Linked DNA regions of Homo sapiens: all the other regions are linked to region 2. The links are contacts of gene promoters, found by promoter capture Hi-C in human tissues and cell types (Jung and others, 2019). All regions are on one chromosome and are shown on one strand. Each heading gives the region's core, a stretch centred on a gene start or on the middle of the fragment in contact. The rest is flanking DNA. Distances are from core to core; before and after follow the strand shown. Region 1 overlaps MFSD6 (major facilitator superfamily domain containing 6). Region 2 holds the start of INPP1 (inositol polyphosphate-1-phosphatase). Region 3 overlaps NEMP2-DT (NEMP2 divergent transcript).

Evidence for each region. The method cuts DNA at HindIII sites, captures the fragments that hold promoters and counts their contacts. A contact is called where the count stands out against the background at its distance.
Region 1: a fragment that was not itself captured here is called in contact with the fragment with the promoter of INPP1 in region 2 in 2 of the 25 tissues and cell types used here (adrenal gland and hippocampus).
Region 3: a contact is called between a fragment that was not itself captured here and the fragment with the promoter of INPP1 in region 2, in 1 of the 25 tissues and cell types used here (hippocampus).

The regions. Positions count from the first base shown.
Region 1 is chr2:190,484,278-190,488,454 of GRCh38, reverse strand. The region is part of intron 4 of MFSD6 (major facilitator superfamily domain containing 6); the gene reads right to left. It also overlaps a transcript of NEMP2 not described here. Among named protein-coding and RNA genes, the nearest start is that of NEMP2, 48 kb to the left of the region's middle. The HindIII fragment of the contact is 7,162 bases long and covers 1-4,177 here.
Region 2 is chr2:190,341,023-190,345,015 of GRCh38, reverse strand. INPP1 (inositol polyphosphate-1-phosphatase) reads right to left here and starts at 1,427. Exons shown (of 7, transcript NM_001128928.2): 1 at 1,055-1,427. LOC124906109 (serine/arginine repetitive matrix protein 1) reads left to right here. Exons shown (of 1, transcript XM_047446773.1): 1 at 1-3,993. The coding sequence starts at 700. The coding sequence ends at 1,578. RefSeq lists silencers at 732-1,061, 1,132-1,441. The HindIII fragment of the contact is 3,445 bases long and covers 1-2,619 here.
Region 3 is chr2:190,574,733-190,579,137 of GRCh38, reverse strand. The region is part of intron 4 of NEMP2-DT (NEMP2 divergent transcript); the gene reads right to left. It also overlaps a transcript of NEMP2 not described here. Among named protein-coding and RNA genes, the nearest start is that of NEMP2-DT, 42 kb to the right of the region's middle. The HindIII fragment of the contact is 4,491 bases long and covers 29-4,405 here.

The DNA of each region.
Region 1 (4,177 bases), core at 1,166-3,665, 140 kb before region 2:
CCATCCATCTCCAGAACTTTTTCACCACCACAACAAAAATTCTGTACCCCTTAAACCATAACTTACACTCACCCCTTGTCCCATCCCCTGACAACCACCATTCTACTTCCTGTCTCTTGAATGTGACTCCCATTCATTTTGTTCATCTTTTCATCTGTGAATAGACATTTGTTGTTTCCTTCTGCTACTTTGATTAATGCTGCTATCAACCTGGTATGCAAGTATCTGAGTCTTTGATTTAAATTCTTTTGAGTGGCTGGGCGCAGTGGCTCACGCCTGTAATCCCAGCACTTTGGGAGGCCGAGGCGGGTGGATCACGAGGTCAGGAGATTGAGACCATCCTGGCCAACATGGTGAAACCCTGTCTCTACTAAAATACAAAAAATTAGCCTGGCGTGGTGGTGCACGCCTATAGTCCCAGCTACTCGGGAGGCTGAGGCAGTGGAATCGTTTGAACCCAGGAGGCAGAGGTTGCAGTGAGCCAAGATCACGCCACTGCACTCCCCAGCCTGGCAACAGAGCAAGATTCTGTCTCAAAAAAGAAAAAAAAATTATTTTGACTAGGTAACTAGAAATGCAATTGTTGGATGATATGGTCACTATATGTTTAACACTTTGAGGAACTACCTTTTTTCCAAAGTAGCTGTACCATTTTACATTCCCACCTGAACTGTATGAGAGATCCAATTTCTCCACCTCCTTGCCAGAACTTATATATATCTTTTTAAAATAGCAATCATAATGAATGTGAAGCAGTTTCTCATGTTGTTGATTTGCTTTCCCCTAATAGCTAGTGATGTCGAGCACCTTTTAGGTGTTTATTGGCCATCTATATCTTCTTTGAAGAAATGTTTATTCAATTCCTTTGCCCATTTTTTAATTGGGTTGGTTTTTGTTATTGAGTTGTAGGAGCTCTTTATATATTCTGGACATTCATCCATTCTAGGGCACCTACTTTGACATTAAGATTATTTCTACTTTTCCCCATTATAATTAGCATCATGGTTAACATTGCTTTTTACATACCTTAGATTATTTACATTGGCTATAATTCCACAAGTGGGGTTAATGATTCAAAGGATATAACAATTTTTATGTTTTGTTTTGTTTTGTTTGAGATGGAGTATTGCTCTGTCACCAGGCTGGAGTGCAGTGGCACGACCTCAGCTCACTGCAACCTCTGCTTCCTGGGTTCAAGCGATCCTCCTGCTTCAGCCTCCCAAGTAGCTGGGACTACAAGTGCCCGCCACCACCCCCAGCTAATTTTTGTATTTTTAGTAGAGACAGGGTTTCACCACGTTGGCCAGGATGGTCTTGATCTCTTGACCTCGTGATCCACCTGCCTCAGCCTCTCAAAGTGCTGGGATTAGTGAGCCACTGCACCCAGCCATGCTTCTTAATATATAGTTCAGTTAAAAAAATGAGTGCAGAAACAATTTACCATGTCCCATTACCAGTTTTATATCTTCACCATTTATGGGAATGAGAGGAAGACAGAGATAACAGGTGGAAAAATGGTCATTATCTTATTATGTAGTAACTGCATTGTCTGAATTAAAACCTTCATTAAGACACTGCTTTAAATGTAAAAACCAGATATTGTCACAACAGGTTTTATAGCTAGACGAGATTAAGAAATCATCTGGTTCCATCCCCTGAGAAATAGTCTCATTTGGAGATAATATCATCAGAGACTCTTAACTCGTATTTTGGAAAATTAAACTAAAAGATCAAAATTCTTTTAAAATTTGATCTGACAGTAGTCTGCCTCTGCCAGAATGGAATAACAGGGACTAAATTTATTCTCCTTCCTCAAGTAACTAAAAAACCGGACAAAACATATGAGACAGTGGTTCCTGAGGGACATCAGCAACAAGGACAGTGATCCCTGAGAGATGGGAAGCAAATGAAAAGCTTTAGTTTACTGACTGATGAGAGTCTGAAATCTGCAGGGCAAAAAAAGAGAACTGCCAAGTTGAAGACTCTAGCCAAGAGTCTAGGGAGCCAAGGTGGCTAGAGTTCCAGGGCAGAATGCCAGAGAGGAGATAGCATCATAGGGAGAAAACTCCAGAGATCTATAGAGGGCTCCCCTAACGTATTCAGCAGAGTACTGATCAGCAAAACATGTGCAGACACTATTCAGAGTGAGGGAATGAACTACCCAAAACCATTTCAGAGAACAATACCCAGAACCCACACAAGGCGGGGAACACTTCTTCCCACCAGCCAAACTGGAACAACTCATGATTCCTAGGATTGGTAGAGTACTCAACAAGGTCTTTTGTTAGTATTATGAAATAATTAGCCGTAGGCTAAACACTGCTCTGGTCTCATCTACATAATCTTAAAAGCAAGACCCAAAGGATCACACTATTTCCAAGTAACTTAGCTGTGACCCAGAACAAAGCTCAAGAATATTTATAGGAAGACAGAAATAGCCAGCACCCAACCAGGTACCATTCACAATATCTGGCATAATAAAAAAATTATCAGGGATGATATTACTTAAGTCAGTCCATAATGGAATAAACACTGTTTTTACTGGGTACATTAGATTGTATGCCTCACAGTTGACTAAGAAACATTAAAATAACTTTCTTAGGTTTTATATATGTTTCAGTCATCATTTTAACTAGGTTTTTTTTTTTTTTAACTAGTAAGATGGACTAGATGATTAGCAGTAGCATACACAGTTAATTTCCTAAGAAGTCAAATAACGTGTTTGCTTTATCTGGCAAAACAATTGCAATACCCTAGATAATGCCAGCTTTCTCAGAATTGAATAATGCCTGGATAGTCTTAATTATGAGTGTTGACACCATAGTACCTAATGGGAATAATTGTAAGTATTTTCATTTCTATTATTAAAGATGATGCTAAGTCCATTTCTTTTCACATATGCAGATTTTTTTTCATTAACCACACTGGGGGAAAAACTCAAAAATATTCCAAGAAATAAATTAATTTATTCAAAATTAATTAGATTCAATAGCAAAATCCAACACAGATTTGGAAATCATTTCTTAAAGATGAATTACCGAAAACCTGAAAACACATCAAATGGTAGTAGGTTAACTTTAATGCTGACGCCAAACCTCTTGTTATGTGTATGTCTAAGCAATCAATTGCAGGATTTACAAGCAACCAAAACATTAAAATATATTTATTATAATTCTAGATAAAAAACAATTCTAGCAGTTATTCTTTTAAGTGTGAAGGCTTGGACACACACAAACTCTTCCAACCACAGGGTTTGTATCTATTTTCCCCCTCTCAGAAATTCTAATCATTTTCTAAAACTTTGAGTGTTCTAAGATAATTAAAGCATTTTCCAGTGGGATGACTTAAGTCAGGATGCTTTTAAACTATTCTTAGAATTTACTGACTAGTATTAAGTGGTAGTTGTAAAAGATTCTCCACAGTTAGACTTCTAGTTTCTATATTGCTTTTGAGACTGATTAGATAATTGGGAATTACATTCTTTAAATTAACTCAGGGAATTAAGTGAAGGAAAAAATAGTAAAGCACAAAAACAAAATTTCTGATACTAAAAGCAGAAGAATGAAAGCCACTCTGCTTGTATGCTCTGATGTTTTCCAGGGCAGATACAGGATTAAAATTGATTTCCCTAAAATAACTTATTTTAAGATATCGTATAAGTGAAGAAGCAATTAAATTCATCTCATTTCTTAGATAGGAAACCAGCAAAATGTAGCAATCCGTAAGAAGGGATTAAATTAGAACATCATCTGTGTATACAAAAGACAGTGGTGGAGCTGCAGTTCTCGTTCATAAACTGGAACATGCAACTTTCTAGTAATCTTAATAATCTGAAGCTCTTGCCAATGTTTTTACTACATTTGTGTTCTGATTCTCTCGTTTTAAAATAACAAAAAAAGCAACCTAGAAACTTGAAAACCCTCCGCCATTTCCCATATTTGTAAGACAAGATTTAGGAAGTCTTAGGAATTGTGCTACCGAAAACGACATTCCTGTAAAGTAGAGGGGACAAAAGATATTATAAACTAGAAAAAGAAAATGCTTCTACTTTCTTAGTTATTAGAGAACTGTGAAAAAGCAGTAGATGATTATTCTTTATGTGATGAAATAAGCACATTTACTCAGTGGCATGGGTAAATGTGTTTACACTAGAATTACAAATTTTTAAACCTTTTTA
Region 2 (3,993 bases), core at 178-2,677:
CTTAGCTAATTCACCAATCAAGAGTAGTTCAGTGGATTACTTTCATCCTTATACTATTATCAAGTTGAGCAGGGCTGATCCTTATCAACTTTTCTGGCTTCAAAGCTAGGAATCAGTGTAAAAGGGCTAAAAAATCTTTTACTCAACAGATGGGATCCACTTAAGTGGTCTGTCCATACTTTTAACCCACTGTTCTTTTGAAGTGAACACCATCATACAGTGGGCAAACTTCTGCTTATTCAACACTTTAAAAATACCTTTAAAATGAGAAATCTCCAAAAAACAAGCCGTGGTTTCTTATAAGTGTTTTTCACAGATGTACTAAAGTAAGCGTTTCCTTTCACACTCTTTGCGCCTAACCGTCTACATGATAGGGCCAAACCCAGGTTAAATATTTTTTTCCAGCTACCACTCTGGACACACCAACTAATTATGCACACCTCACAAAACCACCTTTCAAAATGCAGAGAGAATTAACAGCAAGGAAGTAAAGATTTTTCTAAATATAGTCCCATCATATTTATTTCACACTCATCAAGTAGGTCACTGGAGGTAGCTGGCAGCTAGGGACACTCAGATGCATCTCTCAAAGCCAAGGCTGAGACCAAGGGGTCACTGACAGCTGCGCCATCTACCTGTTGCAGCTGGGCCACTGCTCTGGACAACTGTCAGATCAGCTTCTTCGTCCTACAAATACTAATGACTGGATTTTTAAAATCGTTGTTTGCCACCCTTTCTTCCCGCCCCCCAACCCCATCGGGCCGCTCGGGCAGGGCCAAGGGCGCCGCGGGACTCACGAGCTCCCCTCCGCGCTGGCTGCAGCGGCGATGCCGGGCATGCCTGGCCGGGCCCGGCCGGGGGCGGCCTCGCTGCCGGGGCAGGGACCTCGCAGGCCGGCGCGCAGAGGCGAGGAACCCTCCCGGCGCCATCGACTCACCTACCCGCGGAGAGGCGACGGCGCGCGCCGCTCACCAGCCCGGGCCCCAGATCCAAGGAGGAGGGGCAGCGGCGCGGGGACCCTGTGGTGGGTGTCGTAAGGAGGAAAACGTGTTACCTAAGCCGGGGATGAGGACAGAGCAGGAGGCAGCAGCCTTTCCCTCGAGAAACGGAAGCGGCGGGGAGCAGGAGGAGGAGGAGGCGCGGCCCGGGCGCGAGGTTAGGCGAGGGGCGCTGGGCGTGCGGCCGCAGGCGCGGCCAGAGGACGAGGGTTGGGGAGGACGGCGGAGGTCACGCGAGCGAAGGCGAAGCCCCGGCGACGCACGGCCCCGCTTGGCTCGGCACCGGATCCGAGCTTGGCCTCAGCCAGGCCGCCGCCCCCGGCTTTCCCGCGGGACCGCGGCGTGGAAACGCGCGCTGCCGCCTCGGGGCTCCCGGGACGCGCGGGCCCCCCACGCCTGCCCGAGCCGGGCGTCCGCGACGTCACAAGTGGAGCGCGATGATTCAGAGGGAGGGCCAGGAAGGGAAGGGCTCTGGGGTCAGCTTGGCCACGGCTGCTGTTTCCTTGTCGCCGCCCACGAATTCACTTTTAAATCTTCCTCCTCCATTCATCTGTACTCTCATAGGGGACTGCGGGTTTGACAGATGGGTTGGCAGCTGTGAAGATGGACTTCCTGCCAGTGGTATCCGGGTCCCACTGTTCTAATGGAAATGTCAGGTGTACTGGATGTTCCTCAAGACACAGCAGTGTCTCTGGGCCTTGCCTCTTAAGGAGTGGGCCTCGGGCCACCTGGACAGGAAGCGCATCAAGGGTGGGGAACTTATCTCTCTCCAGCCTTTGGTGCTGTGATACTCAGTGTACCTTAAGGATGGTTTGGGTTGAACCTAGGTAGGAATGGGTGTTGGTGGGCGGGGTGGGGGTGGGGGGAATAGAAACCTTAAAAGGGCAACACAAAGTTTTGAATAGAAGAGGCCAAGCAGCCTCGCCCAGAAGCTGATGTTTGTGAATGTACTGGGCCTTCTAAAGCGGCGCTTCACACACCTTTTCACTTCTTGGCACAGGTAGGAAAGGATGATATTACAAGGGTCAAAATGGGGGTAAACAGAAGAGGCTGCTCCTGCAGAAGGCTTCCTGCAGAAGCCCTTGCACTTGGAGGGCTGGGAAGACCCATGCTGTATCTGCATCCCTGTCATTCGTTTCACGGCATCCAGTTGGGAAGCTCTGCTTAAAGCTTTGTCTGGCACGTTTTCTTAGCTACATTTTTCCACTCCAGCTGAGACTGCCTCACTGAGTTGTCAACACTTGGTCTTCTTCAGCAGTGAGGAACCAACAAGACAGGAGGCTGGGTCAATACTCAACTTGGCAAACTCCAGGAAATGGTGCTTAAAACGTTTGGCTTCTTGAATGGAATTCATGGTACTGCTCCCAGCCTGCACCTGGGTTCTCCAACTTGAGACAATTTCTCCCCGCATCCCCCCACCCTTCCCTGGCTTTCACTCACTAGCAAGTGGGCTGCTTCTACTTTCTTTCTCACATTCATTTCTTAGGTCCATTCTCAGAGCGGTTAGGATTACTGTTTAATTAGCCTCATAATCATATCTATGATGGCAAAATCAAGAAACAATTTAAACATGATTCTTAAAAGTAAGGAGATAAATACCAGAGACATAGAAGGTGAAAGAATTTGCCTCTAGGAAGCAGGAATTTAAATTTGGGGAAGACAGGGTGGAGCAAGGGATATAAATCTAGTCCATTTTTCTTTTCTTTTCTTTTCTTTTTTTTTTATTTTTAAGATAGAGTCTCACTCTGTCGCCCAGGCTGGAGTGCAGTGGCATGATCTTGGCTCACTGCAACCTCTGCCTCCTTCGTTCAAGCGATTCTCCCACCTCAGCCTCCCTAGTAACTGGGATTACAAGTGACTGCCACTATGCCCAGCTAATTTTGTATTTTTAGTAGAGACGAGGTTTCACCATGTTGGCCAGGCTGGTCTCGAACTCCTGACCTCAGGGGATCCGCCCAGCTCAGCCTCCCAAAGTGCTAGGATTCCAGGCGTGAGCCACTGCACCTGGCGGAATCTAGTCCATTTTCCACTTTGCTACCACACATCTGCAGGGTTTCTTGCTTGCTTAAAAGCTTTCATTGGCTCCCAATCTCTGATAATATCAAGAGCAAGTTCCTGAACAACTCATTCAAGACCCATCACCCCTCGCATCTGTCAACTCTGCCCCTTGAATATTACACCTCATTTTACTACACCACATCTAGTTCCCTGAATATGCAAACAGATTTCATACATTTGCACCTTTATACATGTTATTGCTTTTGCCTGGGAGAGTATTCTCTTGCTGCTATAATAATAGCTAATGACACTGTGCTAAGTACTTTCTGTGATTTATAACTGTTAATTCTTACATCAACCCTATGGTAAATGTTACTGTTATCTCCATTTTATAAACAAGAAAACTAAGACTTAAAGAGTTTAAGTGATTTGCAGAAATATGTAGTATTTGGTGAGGCTAAATTTGAACCCAGCAATCTGACTCCAGGACTAACATAATATTACCTATTCATCCTTCTAAAATGTTTCCCAGACACTAAATTTGAACAGGATTAAAAGATTTAAATGTTTTTAAGTCTTAAAAGGGCAAGGAGAAAATACAAGTGAATTGCTTTTAATCTCAAACTAAGCATGAAACAACGGCTGAAATTACAAAGGAAAAGTGACAGATCTGACTGTTGAACTTTTAACTTCTTTTATCCAAAAAAAAACCCCATAGAATAAAATTTAAAAACAAGTAAAAATTACAAAAAATTTGCAATATACATGACAGATAAGCATAACATTAAAGAGAACTTAGAAAGAAAAAATAGCCTACTAAAAATGAGCAAAATGCAAATTCGTCATCATGAGAGAAAAATGTAAATGGCCAAACATTTTTAAGAGAAGTAAAAACTTAAAACGATAATGCACCATCAAATTGAGAATAAAATAATACTCAGAGCTAGTAATTTGGGCCAGTGACCCTTGGAGTAGGATGTATAGCAACTAAAGAAAC
Region 3 (4,405 bases), core at 1,025-3,524, 230 kb before region 2:
CACACACACAAACCAAGACTGGAAAGTATTTATTTCTAACTTACAGTTCTATTCACTAGACTGTCTGCCAAACAATGCTGCCCTGTGACCAACACTATGATAATATATAAGCAAACACATCAGTCCCTGGGAAAGAGCACGCATCAGGGTGTGGTAAAAATCCAGAAACTGTGTCCCTCCCTTCAGGGGTCAAATATCTGGCAAACATCCTGGGGTCAGATCAGAGGCCAGAATCCACTGTGGGGAGCTGATCCGTTCCCACAAAGGAGATTTGACTTGCTGGCAGCTGGCAATTTTCCTTTGTGAAATGGGTGTTCCTGGCACTCCATAAAAGTCCTCCCTCCCTCCGCTTTTTTTTTCCCTCCACCCCTGCACTCCACACCCTGCTGTACACACCCTCCCACTCCTATACCAATAAAACCCCTCCCTAACACACATTCTGCACACACACATGCCCCCACAACTTCCTCTGCAAACACACCCACATATCTCTCAGATACACGCCCAGGCAGTACAGGGCTTTCTGTCTCATGCCCTCAGTCTTCTCCTAGCATCTTAACACCATATATACTACCCCACACTTCCTCTTCTTTTCATTATCACCCGTACTTATTTTATTTTATTTTAATATTCCTTCACCTCATCCCGGCCCACCTGCCTTTGCTCCCTGGGCCTGGGAATGCTGGCACTGTAATCTTGTTCTGCACATTTGTAATCTGGAGCTGTCACAAGCAGGAAAGTCATCAGCCTGCATGTGCCTGCCTGTTCTTCTCCTGCAGCTAGGCTAAGAGGGAGGATGGAAGGAAGCTGGCAGGCAGTTCTATTTCTGGAAACTACAGAAACTCTTGTTTTCCCTCCTTAAATTCCCAAGGGAACCATTCCAGGCTTTGCAATAGTCACCATCATTTCTTCTTTCCTCTAATTCTGTTGCAAGTTTTCCTCTGTCCATTCTTCAGATTTACAATATGGTGTCTGTCTGTGGTAGCATCCCTCACATCCTGTCCATTATGACAAGTTACACAAGCCCAGGAGACCCCACAGAAGATATAAAGGACAATGAAAGAGAAGGATAAGATTGTTTATGTCCAACTGGAAAGTTAGGTAATTTAAATATATGTTAATCCCCTGGGATCTGTCTGTAGACAAAACATTGAAAAAATGCTGTATCAATAAAATATAGAATGTATTGGTTTATAGCATTTCCATGCTCTCCAATACCTGATAGCTTCACTAAGTTTTTTGTTTTTGTTTTTGTTTTTGTTTTTAAGATGGAGTCTCACTCTGTCACCCAGGCTGGAGTGCAGTGGTGCAATCTCGGGTCACTGCAACCTCCACTTCCCAGGCTCAAGCGATTCTCCTGCCTCAGCCTCCTGAGTAGCTGGGACTAAAGGCATGCGCCATCACACCCGGCTTTTTGTATTTTTAGTAGAGGTGGGGTTTCACTATGTTGGCCAGGCCGGTCTTGAACTCCTGACCTCAGGTGATCTGCCCGCCTCAGCCTCCCAAAGTGCTGGGATTACAGGTGTGAGCCACTGCTCCCAGCTTCACTAGGGTTTAAAAGTGATCCTCTTGGGCAAATAATTTGCCACAGTTGCCCAGCTTTCTTGTTATTCCTTGGTGAGGAGGATGATAGTTTAGCTAAATAAATATTAAGAAAAATGAGGGTCCTTTAATCATTCCATAATAAGAACATGTGAATTTTTAAGAACAGCCATTATTTACGTGAACCTAAATATTACACATAATCTATGACATTGCACTGGACATTAAGCGAAATAGATACTGTTTTTGTTCACTGAAAATGTACCATCTAAAAAAAGATACCAATGGGACCAAAAAAATGTGAATAGCCAGAAACAGATTTGATTATTTTCTTTTAATGTTAAAAAAAATTGAGTAAGTCCCCACTTTCCAAATAATAGCATCCTAACATATAAATTTTGCATTCAAAAACCTAACAATCTGGCTCCAATACACCTTTCAACTCTGTATTCCATTTTTCCCCACTAACGCTGTCATCTACACACTGGACTTACTGATTCCCGAACACAGTCTGTGCTTTTCAATGGCATCTTAAGACCAGGGGCCCTGTCTTTCCAAATTGTATCCCTCACAGTTCTCAGCCCAGTGTATTATGCATAATATTGTACCTGGTGAATAAACAGTTGCTGACAGTGAACTTCATGAGAACAAGGCAGTTATAATTAGGGTGGAGTTAGAATTTGCAAAGCTCGTTGCATACAGAAAAGGCATGTCCTCTTTGCCTATAAAGTGCCTACTTACTCCCTATATTAACACTGTTTTTCCGTTGCCATAACTGCCCAACAATGTTAATGTATTTCATGGCTCTAGGACATCCTTATTCAGCCTCACGTGTCCAGGCTTCACATATCTTTGGACTGGGTTTTACCAGAGACTAACAGGTTGCTATCACCACATGTATCCAAAACACATACGAAACAAGTCAGCACAGCACAAGTGGAGAAAAGAACCAGATCCCCCCCCGCCCCACCCCGCTCCATAAACTAGTAAATTCACCCTCAATTCAGTATGTTGCAGAAATACCATCTTCAGGGATACATTAAGATACACATTTCATTAATTTCTTCTCTCCTAGGGAAACTTTTCTCTTTCATTTTCTTAATGCTTAGCTGCATTTTGATGTTTCCCGTTTCATTTAACAAGTTACATTTATTAGCTTAAGTACTCTCTTCCATCAACAAACCTTGAAAGCTGATGCTAGTTCTAGAAATCATTGTTTCCAACCATACGGTTCAGATAATTTAAGAGTCTCATAGTAACAAATACAACCTGATTCAAGTTGTCAGTGATTTTCCACGGCAATAAACATTACAAAAAGTAATGCAGGCAGGGCATGCTGGCTCACTTTTGTAATCCCAGCACTTTGGGAGGCTAAGGCAGAAGGATTGCTTGAGACCAGAAATTCAAGACTAGCTTGGGCAGCATAGCGAGACCCTGTCTCTAGAAAAAAAATTTTAAAATAAGCCAGGTGTGGTGGTGTGCACCTGTGGTCCCAGCTACTCAGGAGGCTGAAGTATTAAGATCACTTGAGCCCAGGAGGTTGAGGCTGCAGTAAACCACGATTGTGCATTCCAGCCTGGGTGACAGAGGGAGACCCTGCCTCAAAAAAAAAAAAAAGTAAACCAGAAACATTTCACAGTACTCATGAATATAGGTCACTAAAATTCACAGATGATCTGTAATGTTCTTTTTAACCATTCATTTCTTTTTTTTTCTTTTTCTTTCTTTCTTTTTTTTGTTGAGATGGAGTCTTGCTTTGTCACCCAGGCTGAAGTGCAGTGACAGAATCTCAGCTCACTGCAACCTCCGCCTCCCTGGTTCAAGGGACTCTCCTGCCTCAGCCTCCCAAGTAGCTGGGATTACAGGCGTGCACCACCATGCCCAACTAATTTTTGTATTTTTTAGTAGAGACGAGGCTTCGCCATGTTGGCCGGGCTGGTCTTGAACTCCTGACCTCAAGTGATCTGCCTGCCTCGGCCTCCTACCTTTCCTTCAAGCAATATCCTTTAAAACCCAGAGTTGTATGTGAGAGCAAATTTAATTTAATCTCATCTATTTGACTACTTTATATTATCAGAAGTACTAACAAGCTGTGAAATGGCTCAAAAGAGAAAATGAAAGAGAGGAAAAGATTTTTTTAAAATGCCACAAACTGGCTAATCAGATCATGAACAGATGAGAGCTTTAAAAAGAACACACTTTTTTTTTAACCTTTAGTATTATACTACAAGGAATTTCTAAGTTTAGCAAAGTAAAAAAAAAAATTAGAAAAAAATAGTCTATTATATCAGATACTTTAGAATTTGAGCTTTGAATTAAAAATAATTGAGCAAAGCTTTGCAGAGTTAGGAGTGGGACTGCAGTGGGAGGGAGGAAGAACCACTTGTTGGGGATGGTGGGAAACTGGCATTCTGGGAGCTCCTGTAAAAAGAAACAGAGTCGGCTGGGCACGGTGGCTCACACCTGTAATCCCAGCACTTTGGGAGGGCGAGGCGGGCAGATCATAAGGTCAGGAGTTCGAGACCAGCCTGGCCAACATAGTGAAACCCCATCTCTACTAAAAATACAAAAAAAGTAGCCGGGCATGGTGGTGGGCACCTGTAATCCCAGCTACTTGGGAGGCTGAGGCAGGAGAATCGCTTGAACCCAGGAGGTGGAGATCGTAGTGAGCTGAGATCGCACCACTGTACTCCAGCCTGGGCGACAGCGTGAGACTCTGTGAAAGCAAAGAAAAGCAAAGAAAAGAAAAGAAAAAGAAGGAAGGAAAGAAAGGGGGGAAGGGAGGGAAGGGAGGGAAGGGAGGGAAGGGAGGGAAGGAGGGAAGGGAGGGAAGGAAGGAAATAGAAAAGAAAGGAAGAGAAAG